2 separate regions of the Homo sapiens genome follow, and region 1 is linked to region 2. The links are contacts of gene promoters, found by promoter capture Hi-C in human tissues and cell types (Jung and others, 2019). All regions are on one chromosome and are shown on one strand. Each heading gives the region's core, a stretch centred on a gene start or on the middle of the fragment in contact. The rest is flanking DNA. Distances are from core to core; before and after follow the strand shown.

Region 1 (7,120 bases), core at 4,611-7,110, 46 kb after region 2:
TTATCAAGGAGATTCTTTAGCCAGACACAATTAAATGTGAGAGGGACACAAAGAAACATCTTGCCTCAATTTCAGTAAAGATGAGCATGTCCTGGCTTTACCACTAATTAGCTAAGAGACTTAAGAATAATTGAGAGAGGGAGTTAGTTAGCCTCAATGTCTTCTCAAGTCTTTTCCAATGTTAATGTTTTGTGATCTCGAGCCATACAAAGAAACCCAACTAAGTATCACCTATGTGTTTTCTAATGTATCAACTCCTCCTTGGCATCAAAATATGTTGGAATCTTCTTCTGCTCACCTGGCACTTCTCAAAGTATATACTGTGAGGTTTCTGTGAGACGGGAGACTCATAACCCTTAAATCTCTCACTCAGGTCTTTCATGTATCTGTTTGCAGGTCTGACTTCCTATTTAGCTACCTCCTTATGTTGTATCTTGGCCATAGTCTCTGAAGAATTGTCACCCAGACAGCTCTCACTCAAGGTGACCTGACTTAAGATTGCCAGAAAAGAATAACTAATGCCATGAAAATCTGTTTTGTTTACAGCTCTATCTCCAGGGACTAGAACAGTACCTGATATAGAGTAGATGCTCAACAAATATTGCAGAATGAATGAACTCAGAGCTGGTTCCACGTCATCATGCCATGGGCTCCATATAGTCACAATCACACGCTAGATAGGTATCCCCAGTGGTTCTTTTTTCTCACCTCACCCCCTGCCTAACCTTTACTCCACTAACAATGTCTTTATTTTCCTCCCTCTGCCTGATTCCTTTCCTAGGTTAATTTTATACAAATCTTTTATTAACTTGATTAATAATCTAAATGTGCTTTCAATTCAGTGAATAAGCCATTTGGAATGAGCTTGGCTTCCCAGTTATTATGATCCACTGAAACTATAAGGCAAGTACAACCAAAGGATGTTGAGATAAATGATATATCTTTGAACTTGAATTGTTAGGCTCTACCAGTGAGGAGTCAGCTGAAGGCAACTTTTCTCCACTGGTAACAGTACGTGGCCAGAAAGGGGAAAAGTCTGGCAACAGAGGCCTGAATGAATGTCAAACCCAGGGATTTTTTAAAAATCATGAACTTTACTATATCTGAAATTGCAGTGATGGGGAAAATTAAACTTGTTTTAATATAGAATTTTATTACATCTAACAGATACATAATTTACTATATCACACTTCCTTTAATCTGTAAATATAAGTACCCAAAATAGACAATAAGAAATCAAGGGTAAACATTAAGACATTAAAGCTGCACTACAGGGCCCCTTGTCATTCACAGCAATGCTAGTCCTAGGATGATCTTCTGTTCCCAAATTAGGTGCGATAAGGCATTTGGAAAACAAATTGTCTGAAGTTTGGGAAGACGATAACTCTCCTCAGTATTACCATCAACAGCCTTTTACCGTGGGGGCATAGACACCGTCCCTAGAGTTTTAAGTCCTCCAGTGAATGCTTGTAACTTGTTCCCCTAGGCTCCTGGGACCAAGTTCATTCCATCAAGGGGTGGTGCCAACTGGGAAGTCTGGAGCTTAGAAGATTAGATTCTTTACTTCTTAGGGTCTTAGTTTTGTCAAAGTACCTCTTACCCAGGGAGCTATCCAAGGTGCTGTCTGAAACTCCTTGTCATCTGGTAAAACTGAATCTTTTTTCCCAGTGTCAACATATATTCCTGCCTAGCTTAGTCTCGCCCTCCTGACTTTGTCTAATCCTGACGCCATCTGTGTTTCCCAGTTTGGATTTGACCAGACTACTGCTTGTTTCCAAATCCTGAGATGTGTTCTGAGGCATTCATAACTTGCCCTCAACTAACCCTCTGCCTGCCTCTTGTCTTGACTCTGCCTAGTCTGACTTAACTATTGCCCTCTCCTAAGATTGATTACCCTGCCCCCCATCTGGTTTTTGTGTATCTATGGTACATGTAAGCAAAATGATAGAGATCAGAAGTTAATCAACATGAGAAATTACACCTCAAGAAATTTGCAACTTTTTATTTTTTATTAATATAAATTACCTATGTTATATATACTTTTGAAAAAATAAGCTTTCTAATGAGAAAGCACCTAGTTATACAGAGACTATAAGGAAAAATAGTTTTTTTAGTTTATTATCTTTCAACATGTTTGTTAAAGTTAATTAAATATTCAGCTACTGTTGGCAAGATTAATATTATTATTGGAGTATATATTTGCATAAAGACTTTAGTCCCATTCACAATTTTTAGTTGAAATAAAGAAAAGAAAATTGTTTTGACTATAGTGGTGGACAACAATTCTGGCAATTGGTGCTAAAATTTATTTGTTAAGATACACTTTTTAAAAATTTGAAATACTTTAAACTTGCATACAGTGTCAAAACTTGCCTTGAAGTTAATATATTTTACTGTAATGATAATTTATATTTTATAAAAATACTGTTATATGCTTTCATAAAAATTATCCTCCCATCCGATTTCCACTACAATGTGTATGTTGTCTTTATAAAGAAAAGCGAATCCATATTAATTTAGAGGACTGTGGATATACATCAGGTGTTGTGCAGTTAATTGTGAAACAAGTGCTCTTTGTTTTCTCAGCTTTTTCTACACTGTCTTGAGGAGAAACAAAAGCCTTCAAGCACACCACCCTCTGTGTTCTAGCTATGAAGAGGTTGCTTGCCTTGAGCATTGGCAGTAGTGTTTGTATTGGCATTTAAGGCAGAGCTAATGACTATTTGGAATCATCCACATTCCTTTTCCCAGCCCCTTCTGTGATCAATGACCCACATCTCTAAGACAGCTCTCAAGATTGGGGATGCAGATCATTGTTATTAACAATTTTTTATGTCTGCAGAAAGCAAATAAACCCTCCAGGGATTGAGTTTTTGACCTTGGCTTCTGGCCAACTCCTATCATAGAGTAGAAAATATTATTAACCAGGCACTACATTCTTACTGGGCCCCAGCTGAGCCTTGATTCAATTTAGACTTTAATATAAATAGAACTGAAATGATCAGCTAATCCATTTTAACAGTGAGACCCATTCTAACAAAACCTTACAAGAAAACCTGGTATATGATATAGATAAGAGGAGAGCTAGTCCCTCAGAATGCAAGTCTGGGACTCTCAATCCCCATTACCCTCTCGCTGCTACAGAGTTCTGTCTGAGAACTAGTGACTGTCCACTAACTTTTTTTTCCAGATGGGGAAACTGAGGCTCGGAGTGGTTAACTCACTATTCAAGGCCACACAGTAGGGACAAAGTTGAGTCCAGATATTTGTCTCCTGACCACCTTCTACTGTCCTGTTCACAACCTCTGCCTCTTTCTTTCCCTTTCCCTGTTCCCTTGAGGTTGAAACCAGCACATCATGCACTCAGTCAGACTTTTGTATTGAGAGCTCTTTTGGACCCCAAGTGAAAAATACTCTAATTCAAATTGGCTTAAGCTAAAGAAGGACTTTATCAACTAATATAAATTAAAAGTTCAGGGATATCTGGCTTCAAGGGCATGTAGGGGCTTAAAAGTTCCATTCAATTTAATCTCCATCTCTTTGTATGTCTTAGCTCTGTGTTGTTGTGCTGGCTTCATTTTCATGGACCTTCTTCATGGACTCCAGCAGATGGAAGCATCCAACATTCTTATAGCTGATAGTTCTCATGGAAAGAAAACTTCTTTTTCCCAATTGCGCTAACAAAATTCTTATAATTGAGTCTCATTTACCTGAGCTGGCTCATGCATGTATCCCTGGACCAATCACTGTGGCAAAGGGTTTGGATGATCTGATTGGTCAAGCCTGGGTCATGTAACCATTCCTGGAAAGGGAGTTAAGGGTCAGAGTCAGCCCCATTCAAATCATTTGGACTGAAAATAAGGAAGGGCAGATTTTCCAAAGAAAAACCAGGATACTGTTAACCAGAAATGTCAGGGAATGGATACTAAGAAGGCACAGACAACATGCATCTACTGCAACATCCTCAACCCTTAGTTGGTTTCTGAGTTTGATACTTAGAAACAAAGGCAAGAGAACCCATTGCAGAGCTGCCTGCACTCTTGCTACTTCTGTAGGTCCCCAAACTGCTCTCTATTACGAACTTTTAAATTTTATTATTTCTCAATTAGGGAGTATTTAGGAATTTCTTGATTTTTTTAAAAGGCATAGAATTTAAACATATCTAAATTTTTGGAGGCAATGGGTAGAAACATCTAGAAGTCTTGACACACTTTAGAGTGTTCAGTTGGGAAAGTAAAATAAGATCAGACAACTTTTACAGAAGTCTCTAAGCAGGATATGATGTTGACAACCCCAATCTCTCTGCCTTCCTTGGTTCCATTCCATTTACCCCTGGGCTCCTACAGTTAAACCAAGAAAGGCTTATAGCTGGGTCATCTCAGGTATGCACTATTAGACATGTTCTGGGAAGAAAACCCTGCCTTTTAGGTCTCCTAGGTGAAGAAAGGTAAGAACAATGGGGGAAAAACAAGATTGCTTCAGAAAATCACCATTTTAATCCTGTAGTTTCGTAGAAGGATTCTAACTTTGGCTTCAACTAGAGGTATTTTAGGAGGCTGGCTGCTAGAAGCATGGGCATAGAGGTCCAGGTACTTTTCTCGATTCTGCATTGTCTGATTGACTTTGATCAAGTTTCTCCTCCTCTCTGGGCCTTAGCTTCCAAGTCCTGAAAAGGAAAGGTTGAAAATATAATAATAACAAACTTTCACGTAAATGAGTGTTTTCCAAAGTGTAGTAGGCATACAATGGTGGTTCATGAGATTATTTCAGGGGGCATGTGGCCATAGTTTTCTATTTTAATAATTATGTATTGATTTTTAAACATACTAGATTCACCAGTACAACTACTCCCAAGTTCATGGATAATATGCTAATTTTCCTGAAACCAACTAAAATAAATGCTACATTTTTCAAAGATGAGTACAGTTAAAGAAAAATATTAAGTAATATTAGTACCATTGGTGCACAGATATGGCAAAACCCCAAAAGTGGTACATGAATGATAGAATTTGAGGAGACTGCTATTTACGACTTAAATATAAAATATTTTGATAGTATAGTATTACAATGATTTGACAGACGTAAAATCTGAGACCATGCTTTACTGAGAATGTACACTACACCAGGAATTGTGCTGGGCACTTTCCATGCATGATGTTATTAAATTTACACAAACGTCTCTGTGAGGTTCATATTATTATCTCCATTTTACGCCTGAGAAACTAAGGCTTGGAGGAGGTTGATTACATTTCCTGAAATCATGCACTGATTGGCTGAGTTGTTATTCTAAGTAAGAGCTACCTGATTCTAAAATCCAGGCTCTTTCTGTCAGCTACACTATTACCCCAGGACTCATGGTTAACAGAGAGAGTAAACCAGGACAGCATCTTCTGACTCCAAATCCTGGGCACTTGTTCTCTAGAATTCACAATGCTTCAAATTCCAGAGGGGCTTTCTGATGCTCTTCACAGTCTAGACAGGGCTGAACATGTGCATTCAGAATATGAAGCTTCATACGTCATCCATTTCTGCAAATAATCCCTTGCCCTTTATCATATCAATGAGTTGTAGCTCTAATTTTATGCATATTTGAATTTTTTGCATCTTAAAAATTGCTTTTGTGCTCTACAAGTTTTGGGGAGCTGTTCAGTGTGCACTCTAGTAGGGACTGGCTGAGAGCTGGCAGGAAAATCTAGGGAATTATAAATAGGCTCTTCCTCAGAATGTATACAAGATACAAGGGGAGGGGAGTGGGGACTCTGGGTGGAGAGGGGAAGAGAAAAGAGTGAAGAAATGTTGTGGTGAGGAGAGAAGCTGGATGGAAAAGTTGGGAATACACCAAATACAAACTCCATATGGTTTAGTAATTTTATTTCAGGCTAGCTTTAGGTCCAAATAAATCTTAGGAACTATTGGTACAATGACTCAATTGTACATTTCTCATAGGACTGCAGTGATTACTTAAATAGATTAGTATTTAGTGATTAGCACATGACTTGACCCATAATAAGTCCTCCTGCAAATGGTAGCTGTTATAGTTGTGGAGATAATCATGTATGTTGTTGAAAATGAGCCTTTTTAACCTAAATATGTCTTATACTCATGTAAATAGAAGGTGTTTTCAAAACTCATTAAGTTCTGCATTGAAATGATTATGAATCAAAAAACGAATGAACTAGGGGAACATGACAACATGGATGACAGATATCCAGTTAATTTTCTTAATACATAAAGAATTTTTGTAAATCAGTACTAAAAGCCCAACAACCCAATTAAAAAAATAGGCCAAGGATGTCACACACACACACACACACACACACACATAAAAATATCAGTGGCTTTTAAACATACAAAAAGATGTCATCTGGGCATGGTGGCTCACACCTGTAATCCCAACACTTTGAGAGGCTGAGGCAGAAGGATCACCTGAGGCCAGGAGTTCAAGACCAGCCTTGGCAACACAGTGAGACAAAAAGTTTAAAATTTCTCTACAAAAAGTTTAAAAATTGGCCTGGTGTGGTGGCTCATGCCTGCAGCTACAGCTACTTGGAAGGCTAAGGTGGGAGGATTGCTTGAACCCAGGAGTTCAGGGCTGCAGTGGGTCATGATCACACCACTGCAATCCAGCCTGGGTGACAGAGCAAGACTCTGTCTCAAAAAAAAAAAAAAAAAAAGTTCAATTTAACTCATAGTGAGAGAAACCCAAATTACAATGGCACTGGGATACCATTTTTTATCTATCAAATTGTTTAAATATCAAAAAGTTTAGTAACATACACTGTATTTATGATGATGGGGAAAGTGCTCTAATACATTGTTTCTACCAACATAAATTGGCACAACTTCAGGAATGAAAGTGTGGGAACATTTAGCCAAAGTATAAATGGCACATTTCCTTTAACTCAGCAGTTCCCTTTCGAGGGTCTTCTTCCATGGTTATACTCAGAAATCCGTACTTAGTCCTAAATACAAGAAGATTTATCACCACATTGCTTTTAATAGCTTAAGATTGGAAAATTATGCATCACAAGGGCACCAATTAATTAAATTATGGTACATTTATACAATGGAAAGCTATGCTATGTGGCAGTTAAAGATATGAGGAAGCTTTAGATAGAGA
Region 2 (7,399 bases), core at 2,468-4,967:
CACCATTCAACCTATTACAATACCTAAGTACTGAGTGCTTTCTGTAAGCCAGAACTTGATATGTGTTATTTGATCAGTTGCTTAAGCTAAATCTTGGAGAATAGCATTCTGGGTTCCTTGGGACCTGATCCTGTTTTCCCAAGTAATAAGAGGGTACCATGTGGGTGCTATGATTAGTGACCAAAGGAAGTTGGTTGACGTAGTTTCTAGATTCTCTGGCTTCCCTCCTCAGTCTTTTTCCCTGCATCCTGACTTAGGCCACATACAATATTTTTTCCTTTCTCTGCAAAACGTCTGTGGTAGGCATTTTTATGCTGTCCAGATCCCCCTTCAAGAAATGACTTTTAGTCCCAGCGGCTTGGAGTATTGTCATCGGCCTTCAACTTCTGATCCTCCCCAGTGCAGAGAGCTGCCTCACTGGAGATCACTTCTGTCCCAGCATAGGCCACAACCAGTGACAGATGGAGACAGCAGTACAAATGCCCTTTCATTTCAGCCTAACATGAGACAAGTTAGATAGGCCATTTTAACTCCATAGTTCCTTGGGGGATTGAAAGAAGCTTTGTGGGATTTGCATTGCAACTCCAATTCTCCCTCCACCCTTTCCTGCTTCCTCTCCCTCCCTTCCATGGCACTGATCCCAAGGTACTCCTGATTAAACACCCTGCACATTAAACTTCAAATCAGAGTCTGCTTCCCAGACATTCTAACTTGTGCCAATGTCTAAGGATCATATATTCTTGGGATCAAACAATTATATGCAAAATAGAAAATTTGGTCTGAGTTTGTACTTATGTATGATTCTGTTCCCATAGGTGGCAATACACAATGTCACGTTAAGGTTGTAAATCATATTTTAAATTTTGGAAGGATCTCTTTAGGGCTTTGAAGTTTTTCATTTTCCTATGACTTAGAACATACGACATGAATCTAAGGCAATTCTAAAACTTTGAAATACTCCTTAAGTATCTGGAAAAAGGAGCACCAGTTTGATTGTTGCTGAAAACTTCTTTAGTTGAAAATAATGTTTTGAGGTTTCGACTGAATGTATAACTGTCTTTGAATTTTTAGTTAAGTAGTGTGATGAAATTCATCAGATATTTAGCACCATCTGTGATCAAGAAGTCAAAAAAAAAAAGAATATAAGACCCAAGTGAGAGAAGTCCTGTACTGGTTGAGAAAATAGGCTTTTGGAATAAAGCAGATCTGGGTTTGAGTTTTGTCTCTACTGTCCACAGTCACTGAACTCTGTGCCTCAGTTTCCCCATCTATTAAATGGGGATAATGAACATATTTATCCTGTAGAGATTTTGTGAAGCTTAAATGAGATTATCTACATAAAACATTTATAATGGTAAACACAATAAATGTTATTATTAGCTACTACCTGAGGCAAAGCATATAAATAAAAAAAGATACATATACACCAAATAGCACACACTAATGAATAAATTTTTGACCATTTGAATCATTGTTTACAGAAAACACATGAAAATTTGTTCCTACCTTTAAAAAAGGATTCCAGATATATTTTCCTTATTAGGGAGAAGGTTACTAATTTTCTAATACTGAAAGTGACATCTGAGTGAAGACCTCATTAGGCGGTGAGTTGTGTGGCTCTTTGTGGAAGAGCATTTTGAGCAGAAAGAACAGCCAGTGCAAAATTCTGAAAGGATAGCTGGACTGTGTTTGAGGATCAGCCAAGAGGTCTGTGTGGCTAGAGAAGAGTAAGCAGGGTGATTGAAGTCAGAGAAATAAGAGGGTGGGGCTGGGTGCAGTGGCTCACGCCTGTAATCGCAGCACTTCGGGAGTCCGAGGCAGGTGGATCATGATGTCAAGAGATTGAAACCATCCTGGCCAACATGGTGAAACCCTGTCTCTACTAAAAATACAAAAATTAGCTGGGCGTGGTGTCACACGCCTGTAATCCCAGCTACTTGGGAGGCTGAGGCAGGAGAATTGCTTGAACCTGGGAGGTGGACTTTGCAGTGAACAGAGATCGCACTCCAGCCTGGTGACAGGGTGGGATTCTGTCTCAAAAAAAGAAAAAGAAGGAAAGCAAGAAAAGAAAGAAAAGGGTGGAGCAGGTCCTATAGGGCCTGGTTGGTCATCGTGAAGACTTTGGACTTTACTAAATGACTTGGGAACTTGTTGGGTCTTGAGCTAAGGAGTGACATGGCCCAATTTCTGTATTAAAAGGATAACCCTGACTAGTGTGTTCAGAATAGAGTAGGGTGGGCAGGGCAGAAAATGAAGGGAGACCGTGGTCAGGAGGCCACTGCGGTATCCCAGGTTGATGGCAAGGGCAGCTTGGACCAACCAAGGCATCACCACCATGGGCACAGAGCATGGTCAGCATCTGCTGTGTTTTGAATCCTGAGCTGATAGAAATTGGCAATGTCTGACAGGAACGGATGAGCTGAAGATGCCTCCAAGTTTTCTCTCCTGAACAACTGGAGGAAAATAGTTCTTTTACTGAGATGAGGAAGACACAGGGGACGGGCAGGTTTGGCAAGAAATATGCAGCCTTCATGTTGGGACCTGTTAAGTATGAAATAGCTCTGAAGCATCCGATTGGAAATGTTGAGGTGGCAATGAGATCGAAGAGTCTGGCGTTAGTGAGTAGTCTGGGTTAGAAATATAAATGTGGGAGTTATCAGGCTATCATTGGTATCTAAAACTATGAGACTTGAGGACAGCATTGAGGGGCTGGATAGAGAAAGAAACAGGAGTGACAGGGAAGAACTTGGAGGCACTCTCATGTTAAGGGGTTACAGAGGTAACGCAAAGAGGCCGAGAAGCGGCGGCCAATGAAAGACCAGGAAACCCAGCGGTCTGGAAGCCAGGTGAAGGCATGGGAGCAGGTTGAACTGATGGCTCAACTGGAGTTTGTTAGGCCAGTGGTCCTCAAAGTATTGTTCCAAACCCGCTGCGGCAGCAGCAGCCTCTGGAAACTTATTAGGGACGTGCAGCCTCTCAGGCCCACTCCAGAGCTACTGGATCGGAAACGGAGGGTGAGGCCCTTCAGCAGATTCTGATGCACCCTCAGGTTTTAAAACCACTGCCCTCCTCACAAAATTGCCTGCACAAAATTATAAATGGGAGAAAGGAGGAGGAGGAGGAGGAAGAGGAGGGGAGGAAGAAGAACTCTTTACAAGAAAAGAATATTGTTGGAGACCCACTTAGTGCCCAAAGCAAACAGCTTCCTCAGAAGTAACTCCCTCCCCAACAACCCCCTCCCAGTGTAAAGCCTCCCATTAATCAATCTATCATGGCTCTTTGGAGAGAAGGAATGCCCCCATTTCACCGGACGGAGGGAATGCTGAGCACCAGGCATGCCAGACATTCCACCGGCTAAAAAAAGTGGGGGTGGTATTCCAGGGTTAGCATTGCTGGACCGTAAACGCTGAAACTCCTTAGATATAAAGCTTATTCCACCCAACCGTTTCCAAATTTTCCTCCAGGCTGTCCTTGGAGAATTCCACCCTCTTTCATTCTGGGGAGAAGAAGTTAAAATTAGGGCCAGCCCTGCGGGACTGACATGCCAGATGCAGGGAAGCTGTCCCCAGAAATAAGCGAGTTCCCACCGCGGCTGGGCGGGGCGGGAGCCTCGGGTCCCAACCCAGCGGAGGGACTCCTGGAAGGCCTGCCCCTTCCAAGTGTCTGCAAGGGCTCTGGTCCCAAGCTTTAAAATCCTGAGCGAAGGCACTGCGGGCCGACCTCTCCTCTCCCAGCCAGTCGTGGCTGGCCTTTCAAAGTGTGCAGTTGTCTCCTCCCTGTCCAGCCCCATCGTCGCCCAGGACCAGCTGGGCCGCGGTCTGACCTGAGGCTGCTGCTCAGCGCCGGGGCGCTGGCGCTCTCCATTCGAGCACCTTCCAGCATACCGCTCGGCTCCGGGAGCCGCTCTGCAAAGTTGGGCAGCTCAGAGCGCAAGCTTTGCCTCTCGACTTCTCCCTCCTTGGGTCCCCGGCGCCCCCGCCTCCCACGATCCCTTTCACTAGGAGCAGCCAGTCCCAGCGGGCTGGCAACTTGCACCCCTTCCTAGTCATCCTCCCTGAAACGCGACCATGCTGTTAAGGGGCGTCCTCCTGGCGTTGCAAGGTAAGGCCTGGACCCCGGGACAACCCCGGGGGCGCTCTGACGACTCGCCCCCGCTCCTGCTGCCCCCGGGGGTCCGGCTCACCGTGCTGGGCTGGGCCATCCGAGGGCGCCTCCTGATCCTCCGCAGCCGCTAACTCCCTCCCCTGGCCAAGCCTGGGGTGGGGGTGGGGGTGGGCGTGGGGTCGCTCAGTGGAGGCGCCCGGGGATGCTGGGGGACAGGTACTGCATCCCTCTCCCGCCCCCTCCCGCTCGTCTTTCCCCCACTTTCACCAGGTAGTCCCCCTGGGGCTCCCCGAGTTGGTGCAAAGGCTCCTGGGTGGAGCTCGAACTGAAACTCGCTTTGTGCCCGCAGCCCTGCAGCTCGCCGGTGCCCTCGACCTGCCCGCTGGGTCCTGTGCCTTTGAAGAGAGCACTTGCGGCTTTGACTCCGTGTTGGCCTCTCTGCCGTGGATTTTAAATGAGGAAGGTAAGGAGGCTCGGTGGAGAGGGGCGCGAAGTGAACTTTCTTCCTTGATGGCTTGCTTTTTTTTCCCACATGGGTAATGTTATCTTGGAGTTAATTCTCCGCGGCAAGAAAAGTGTGAGTCATGGATCCTCCTTCAAGCCCTCAGCTGTGCTGCAAGGGATGGCCGAGGCAGGAACGGGGCGGGCGGGAGGCCGCCCTTTGTTTACCTGGCCTATGGGTAGAAGCTTAAAATTTGCGTCTCACCCCAGCACTCCTTAATGGAAGGGAGAAACGGAGCACAGCTAATGATTGTTCTCCGCTGTGGGCCTCTGCAGGCACACCAGCTGTGTGCCTCTGCAGGCCAGCAACCTTTCTGGTCCTCAGGAGACATGTCTGTGAGTTGGGAAAAGTTGCATGGGACTAGTTCTCCTTCAGCTTTGCAGAAATGGTTCCACAATTCTGTGATGGGACGTCAGTGCTAAGACATCACGTCTGCCTTGACCCTGACAGTGTTTTTTGCTGCATGATTTCATCCTCACACTCCTGTTTGTAATCCTGCCCTGGACAAAAGAAACCATGTACACTGCCAAATGCCTGGGGTCCCTGTCTCACTGGTGGTCATTGTCTTACTACTCTATACTGTTTGGGTCCCAAGGACAAAGTTTAAATGTGGGGTCTTCTGAAGTGTCATCTTGCCTTTATATAGTTTTTTTTGTTTTTTGTTTTAAAGTGTGGTTCTCAGTACCCAATGGCAGGCGGCACTGGGTGTCCCTTCTTTCCTTTCTCTCTCTTTTGTCACCACCAGTGAAGCCTGATGCCCACAGACTATTTGGATTGGAAAATAGCCTTCTTTAAAAAACATGGTACCCTAGATGAAACCAGCTCACCTCCTTCCCCACTCAATTGTCCTCAGGCCGCAGATCCTCCCACCTCGCTCCCTGGGGGAGGATGGAGCCCGGAACCCCTGGTTAGATGTATGAACTGTCACCACAGCTCACTCTGCCCCAGGCTTCTACTCAGGGTTCTGCATACATTAGCTTCTCTGACCCTCACAGGTAGGTGATGTTGGACCCGTTTTACAGAGGAAGGAATCTCAGCCATAGAATATTCAAATGGCTAGTCCATATCACAGTGTCACTGAGTGGCTAACTCTGAGTGTCTAGTTAGGAAGAAACAGGAAGGAACTGGTTCAGTAGTAATCTCCATCTTTATCCAACAATTGCCAAGTCTTGACTACTACAGTCTACTTAGGGGTGGCTGGGAAAAAGCAATTCTTGATTTATTATTCGAGGGATTCCTATCTTGCTGATGGCTTTAGGAAAGTCTCTGTAATCTTGCCACTCACCCTTTCCCTATACTGGCTGTATGGAAGCATTGCGGGAGATGGCCTTAGAAATGCCACGAGACTGGCTTTGGAGAGCACACTCCTCCAGCACGGGGCTTCTCAAACCTCAGCTGCATCAGAATCACCTGGTGGGCTTGTAAGACACAGATTGCTGGGCCCCACTTCCTGAGTGTCTGATTCAGGGGGCCTGAGAATTTCTAACAAGTTCCCAGGTGATGCTGATGATGCTGGTCTCGGGACTACACTTTGAGAACTGCCGACTTCCACAGTCTGTGTACACACACACACAACCTGTGCTGTTGTTGGCTCTGAGTAGGTCTGGCACTAGGGTGAAGGAGCTACTTGCAGGACCCGAGAGTGAACAGCTACTTAAGTCTTGTTCCCTAAGCACTTGGCTTGCCTCATCCTAGTGCTGGCCCTGAGAAAAGGAAATCAACATCATTCCTTAAGCCAGGAGCCTTAGTTAGTCTCTGAGTTCCTGCCTCCGGCCCTCTGTCAGGATGGGGGCCCCCTCACAGCCTGCCTCTGGTCAGTGGGCATGCCACAGCCTGCTGAACACAACTGCCTCCCAGACCCACAGGAAGTCTCTCTGCTGAGTTGGCACCTCTGCCCCAGGACAGCAGTTAAACCATCCCCCTTCAGGGAAAACAGGAAGATGCTTATAGAAAAAGGTGATTACAGTTTAATAGTATAACGAAGGCACTGTGGCTTTGCTTTCTGCATTCTTTCTAACAACCACTGCTTTCTGGCTCAGGACTGGGACTACTGGGTTGGCTGGCGGAAGTTAATTCATTCTCCTCTGAGCACTCCAGGGTGGAGCAGGCAGGTTAGGCTCCAGTTGTTCCAGCTTCAGTTTGTCAAAGGCCAGAACTTGGACGTAACAGTGTACTGCAGGCTCCAGGGCAGTGAGGTAGGTGTGTGGCAGTTGCTGTGGTTGCCTAAGAAGACATCGCTAAGAATTTCCCTTATAAGCCCATTTCTAGGTTGGTAAATTAAAGATAATAAAATTCTTCCAGGCTGAAATTTGGCAAGCTGTTCACAAGCTTCTCTGCAAATGCACTTCTTCCTGCAGAAACCCTTTGAAACTGGTTCCATGGTTCCATTCACCTTCATGTACTGGATCCACCATGGAAAGTAGTGGGTTTCAGAGACTTTTGCCCACATGCACTTCTTTTTTTTTTTTTCTTTAAGTTCTGGGATACATGTGCAGAATGTGCAGGTTTGTTACACAGGTATAAATGTGAATGGTGGTTTGCTGCACCTATCATCCCGTCATCTAGGTTTTAAGCCCCGCATGCTTTAGGTATTTGTCCTAATACTCTCCCTCCCCTTGCGCCCCACCCCCAACAGGCCCCGGTGTGTGAAGTTCCCCTCCTTGTGTCCGTGTGTTCTCATTGTTCAACTCCCACTTATGAGTGAGAACATGAGGTGTTTGGTTTTCTGTTCCTGTGTTAGTTTGCTGAGAATGATGGCTTCCAGCTTCATCCATGTCCCTGCAAAGGACATAA

Evidence for each region. Contacts are between HindIII fragments. The study calls those that stand out against the background at their distance.
Region 1: a contact is called between a fragment that was not itself captured here and the fragment with the promoter of MAMDC2 in region 2, in 1 of the 25 tissues and cell types used here (spleen).

Annotation. Positions count from the first base shown.
Region 1 is chr9:70,083,829-70,090,948 of GRCh38, forward strand. The region is part of intron 2 of MAMDC2 (MAM domain containing 2); the gene reads left to right. Among named protein-coding and RNA genes, the nearest start is that of MAMDC2, 44 kb to the left of the region's middle. The HindIII fragment of the contact is 4,157 bases long and covers 3,783-7,120 here.
Region 2 is chr9:70,040,131-70,047,529 of GRCh38, forward strand. MAMDC2 (MAM domain containing 2) reads left to right here and starts at 3,718. Exons shown (of 14, transcript NM_153267.5): 1 at 3,718-4,101; 2 at 4,454-4,567. The coding sequence starts at 4,068. It overlaps LOC124902179 (a long non-coding RNA gene), which reads right to left and starts at 3,911. Exons shown (of 2, transcript XR_007061571.1): 1 at 3,824-3,911. RefSeq lists a silencer at 3,703-3,997. The HindIII fragment of the contact is 1,989 bases long and covers 2,374-4,362 here.